Regions from separate parts of the Homo sapiens genome. Here region 2 is linked to region 1. The links are contacts of gene promoters, found by promoter capture Hi-C in human tissues and cell types (Jung and others, 2019). All regions are on one chromosome and are shown on one strand. Each heading gives the region's core, a stretch centred on a gene start or on the middle of the fragment in contact. The rest is flanking DNA. Distances are from core to core; before and after follow the strand shown. Region 1 holds the start of PSMA5 (proteasome 20S subunit alpha 5). Region 2 has its middle 6.3 kb from the start of GSTM4.

Region 1 (2,700 bases), core at 157-2,656:
TTTACATTTCCTGCACCTTTGAAATGCCTTGGTGACTTACAAACCTAATCTAGGACCAAGAATGAACTTTACTGGAGAGATACAGGCCTTGAGAGGTTAAGGACTTGACTAGTGGTATCACATTAACAACTGGAAATGAGATGCTGGCATTTCCCTTTCCAGCATATACTGCCTGATAAATGATTTCTTTCCCCCGACTCCAGCTTTAAGGTGTAAGTGACAAATAGAAATTGTTCATGTTTATGGTATACAACGTGACGTTTTGATATACATATATATACACACACACACTGCAAATAATTAAATGAAGCTAATCAACATAATCCATCATCTCACATACTTTCCTGTGGTGAGAACATTTAAGGTGTACCCTCTTCACAATTTCAAGTACACAATATATGATTATTAACTATAGAACTCATCCACCTTCTCTGACTGAAACTTTGTATCATTTGACCAACATTTCCCTATATTCCCCACCCCCGTGCCAAGACTTCTTACTTGCCTTTCTTGAACAAATACTTGAATTACAGTGTTATTACGAAGCTGCAAAGTTGCTCCTCAAGCAACTTATTGAAGGGAAGCAAGAAGCGTCGAAAAAGAAAGCGCTTTTTTTTTTTTTTTTTTTTTCGGATAGGGTTTGGCTGTTGCCCAGGCTGGAGTGCAATAGCACGATCTGGGCTCAAAGAAAACACTTATTTTTCACAAACAACAGAAAAAGCAGTGAATATTTTGAAGTCTGGATCCTGAACTCTAGGTTATTTAGGTCTGAAACCTGTACTAGGGGGAGGGGTGCAAGAAAGAGTTGATAAAATTACCTTAACCATGTGGAAACTTTAAGACTTTCTTACATACTAACCCCTCGCCCCCCACTTTTCTCAATAAACGAGCCAAACTGGCTGAAACGAAGGGACTCGTCCGCGGCGCCGGCTCAGACCCACTGTAGCCGACTCATTACCGCCCAAAGTCCTGGAGCCCTCGACCGGGCATGGAGAACACCGTGGAGGAACCCTAAGAGAGGGAATCCTGCGAAGAGAAGTCAGGTGGTGGCCTTGCCGGAAACGGGACCAAAGTCCTCTAGCTGGGATTACGGGAGCCGGCGAGGGACCTATTATGTCAGGGTTCAGACAACCCAGCTCTGCATGCAAGCCTTTCCAATTGCCAGTCTTGGGGCGGGCTCACATCTTCTCTACAAGGCGAACTCACTACACGCCTTGGGTGCCTATCGTCCCTAGCAACCACCCGCGATTTAAGGCGGAAGTACCTCCCTGGTCCTCCTCCTCCTCCGGACCAACCAAGCCCTCGTGAGGAAGCGCGTTGGCCCAATCACCTAGGCGGGAACTACTACCAGCCAATAGGAAGCAGGCACAGGAGGGCGGGCTAAAGAGGTCGCGGTCGCACGCGCAGTTGGTCCTTAGTACTGCGGCCGTGTGGGTGAGTTGGCTGCCGGTGAGTTGGGTGCCGGTGGAGTCGTGTTGGTCCTCAGAATCCCCGCGTAGCCGCTGCCTCCTCCTACCCTCGCCATGTTTCTTACCCGGTCTGAGTACGACAGGTCCGTGCAGCTGGGGGACGTCGGGTGGGAATTATGGGTGGGCAGGCCCGGGACCTGGCCGCGCGGCCTGGGTTCTGCCGTGTCATGGGGCTCCCCAGGAACCCGAGACTGGCCGGACCTGGGGATGTTATGCCCTCCTCAGGCGCCCGCCGTCCTTCCCCAAGCTAGACCACATCGGCGGCACTTGTCCTACCGCTGAGTCACCCCTGGGTCCTAACTCGGTGCGGAAGCGAGAAGCTCCGGCTGGTGCTTGGTAAAGAAGGCGTGAGGAGCCGGAACTCCTACCTTGAACCCGGAGAAGGCCAAGGGTCACTCTTTGCTCCGTTCATCTTTTCGTGCCTAGTATGACTGCCTTGAACAAACAAACAAAAAGTTAAACGTGCTTCCTGGAAGAAAAAGCAACTGGTTTGTAGTAGGGCATGCTGCGGTGTATAGTTTCTTCAGAAGCGCGAAGGCAGTCGTAGCTTTGGCTGGATATATTGTCTGGAGTCTGATTTTATAGGAACTGGAATTTAGAATGGTTTTCAAGAGATTTCTCATCATGCCGATTCCAATTGACCAAAATTTTTTCTGACTTTTTAAAAGTTTAAAGCAAGTTTTAAAAAACTTTTGTGGTATGAAAATGTTCACAATATTAAGTTGTACATATATATGCTGTAGACATTTTTACTTTCAGTTTCTGTTTTCGTCAGTTAAGTTTTTACATAGCTACTCTTTTTTAAAGTCAGGGAAGGCAGACATTTTCTTTGTACTGAGTGGTATGAGATGCTGCATTTCCTGTCAAGTATATGCTGATCCTGTCGAAGTTTTACCACCTGCAGTTACCACTTTTTCATCTTTTTTACTGACTCGTAGAAGATGTGTGTGAAGTTTTGACATATTTCCCCACTGTCCTATAAAGTGACTTTGTTGGTCGATATTTAACTTCCAGAACATTGAAGAGAATCATCTTCGGGTGACATAATTTTGAGTTAGGGTGTGTATGATAGAAATTGTTATGCTTATCAGAAGGCATTTATTAAATTTTGTGGCCATTTACTTAACATATGTATTGACTGCTTTGTTACTTATTTTTCTGTCTTCCCAAGACGGCCTAAAATACATCCCTTTTTATTCTCTTAGTTAATGTGCTTGAGTGCTTGCTGTGA
Region 2 (2,700 bases), core at 1-2,500, 220 kb before region 1:
AAAATCAAGCAGAAATTTTTGCCACAGTTATAACAGCCATAACTCTCCGGCAAGGAAAAGCTTTAATCCATCTTGAAGGAGAAAAAAAAAAACCAAAATAATCAGAGCATATTTATAGTCCATTGCAGGAGGCATTTGTATAAAGTGATTGGAGGTCTGAAGGGCCCTCGAGATCTTAGTTCTTGTTCATATCCCACCTTTGCATTTGCTAGGATCGCATTGTTGGCAGTAGGACAAGTTTTTAAAATATCCTTGGAAATACCTCTAAAATTACCCCCACCAATGTTGATTTAGTATAGTTGCCAATTTGTCCCTGCTATTATGAGTAATATCGCAAAGCATTTTTCTGAAATTCCCCTTTAAATCATTTGCCATTATGTGTCAGCTATCCTGACAGCATCAAATAGTCTCTTTTGCCATGAACATCCAAACTTTTCCCACTTCCAGATTTTTTCACTTTTCTACTTTTGGGAATCAGGGGTTTGTCTCTGACAGTTAAAAATGGCCTCTTTGAATCCTCCAAGACCCCTCTTTTCTGTGTGATTTGCAGGAGCATTGATCTTGGTGACGCTACTGGGGTTAGCATGGTGGCCAGCTAAAGTATTACTAGAAATTCTGGGTCTTTGTGCATTGAATGGTGGTCTACTTTTATTACAGCTATTTCCTCAGGTAACAGCAAAGCAGCTGAAAGTTTTATTTTTAATCCGTCATCCAATTTTTGCAGATTTTTGTGGAGGTTAGAAAACTCTTCATTTCCAAAGCATTCCCAATTCACAGACTCCCCAAAAGTGCATCTGCCATTAGTGTATATGCTTACTCTTTTACACTTTAGCAGCCAGCAGACCCAGATGCAGGCAATTATTTCAGTCATTGGAGCTGATTTAATTTCTGGAGTGGTCTCTACTTTAAGGGTGAATTTAGGTCTGTGATAGCATTTTAAAATATGAACAAATAAAATCAGGTCAGGGCTATCCAAGGGAATTTCTAACAAGATGTTTTAAGAGCATGTGAAAAACACTGAGAGTTAACAGAATAATTTGGTGAAAAAAAATAACCTCTAGTAATCTGGGTGCAAAACAACTGAGTCATTTTACATGACAGAGCCAAATCCTAATTTTACTCCTTTGGTACATAATTTTCTAATAGATTATAATAAAGGCTCTATTAATATTCCTTTATTTGTATGCATTTAGGCATACACAGATATATAAATATACAAATAGGTAACAAATTAAAGCTTTCTTTTTTAAGTTGTAATAAAAACACTTAAAATGAGATCTGCTTGTTACCAGTGGAGGGCGTTCAGGTTCTTCGCATTTTGAACAAAGAACTGGACAGAACGCACAAACAAAACAAGGAGCAAACAAATTTTCATTTATTGAAAATGAAAGTACACTCCACAGGGTGGGAGCAGGCCAAGCATAGGGGCTCAAGAGCCCGGATTCAGAATCTTTTGGGGTCCAAATACCTCCTAGAAGTTTGCCATTGGCCACTTGGTGTTCACCCCATGCAAATGAATAGTGGTCCACAATCAGAGGCTGAAGTGAAGTTACAAAGTTACACTTCTATGCAAATATCTGATTGGCTGCAGAAAGCAACCAATCAGAGGAACTGTCCATTTTCCATCTGCAGAGCAGAAAAGCAGGGGGTTTGCAAAGGGAGTAGCTTCTGGTCCTTTTGTTACTTAGGCATGGAAAGTTGGGATTTTCCTTTCGATTTAGCTCTAGAAATTCAGTGTGAATCAGCCTTAGGTTCCCTGCCTCCAGACCCTATTCTCCTGCCGCATACTCTCTTAACAAATTTTTAAGTAAACAGGTACACAGTATTGTTAACTATGAGCACGGTGTTGTATAGCAGATATCTAGAATATGTTTATCTTGTATAACTGAAACTTTATACCTCTTGAATAGCAACTCTCCATTTTGTTACCGAAACACCAGGGATTCAGTCTGAGTCCTGCTGTTTGCTGCACAGATAGCCAACGGCTGAGATGATTACTGCCAAGGAAGAAGGCTTTAATAGAGTGCTGCAGTAGGGGAGATGAGAGATCAGTCTCAAATCCATCTCCCTGACTGGCTAAAATTAGGGGTTTATATAGCAGAGAAAAAAATGTAACAATGTATGGGAAAACAGGAATTCTGAAGGGCTAAGGAAGCAATCATGATGAATGAGGGGCCTGGCATCTCATTGTCTGGATGTGATGATCTGGTGAGTTTCCGTTCTTTGATACCTTCTGAGAGGCCTGGTATTTAATTGTCTGGATCTGGTGAGTTTCAAGCTTTAAGTTTATTTTTTAAAAACTGTCTATGTCCAGGCGCGGTGGCTCACGCCTGTAATCCCAGCACTTTGGGAGGCCGAGGCGGGCGGATCACGAGATCAGGAGATCGAGACCATCCTGGCTAACACGGTGAAACCCCGTCTCTACTAAAAGCACGAAAAATTAGCCGGGCGTGGTGGCGGGCGCCTGTAGTCCCAGCTACTTGGGAGGCTGGGGCAGGAGAATGGCGTGAACCCGGGAGGCGGAGCTTGCAGTGAGCCGAGATCGCGCCACTGCACTCCAGCGTGAGCGACAGAGCGAGACTCCGTCTCAAAACAAAACAAAACAAAACAAAACAAAAACTGTCTCTGGACAGTTGGATTGGTTTTAATTTCCTCCTCTCCCGATCCCCTGAAAACCGTCATTCTACTTTGTTTCTATGA

The links. Contacts are between HindIII fragments. The study calls those that stand out against the background at their distance.
Region 2: a fragment that was not itself captured here is called in contact with the fragment with the promoter of PSMA5 in region 1 in 4 of the 25 tissues and cell types used here (dorsolateral prefrontal cortex, hippocampus, lymphoblastoid cells and 1 more).

What each region holds. Positions count from the first base shown.
Region 1 is chr1:109,425,154-109,427,853 of GRCh38, reverse strand. It overlaps PSMA5 (proteasome 20S subunit alpha 5), which reads left to right and starts at 1,406. Exons shown (of 9, transcript NM_002790.4): 1 at 1,406-1,552. The coding sequence starts at 1,524. RefSeq lists enhancers at 846-905, 412-1,343. The HindIII fragment of the contact is 7,725 bases long and covers 1-2,700 here.
Region 2 is chr1:109,648,438-109,651,137 of GRCh38, reverse strand. No RefSeq gene overlaps it. Among named protein-coding and RNA genes, the nearest start is that of GSTM4, 6.3 kb to the left of the region's middle. The HindIII fragment of the contact is 6,271 bases long and covers 1-2,700 here.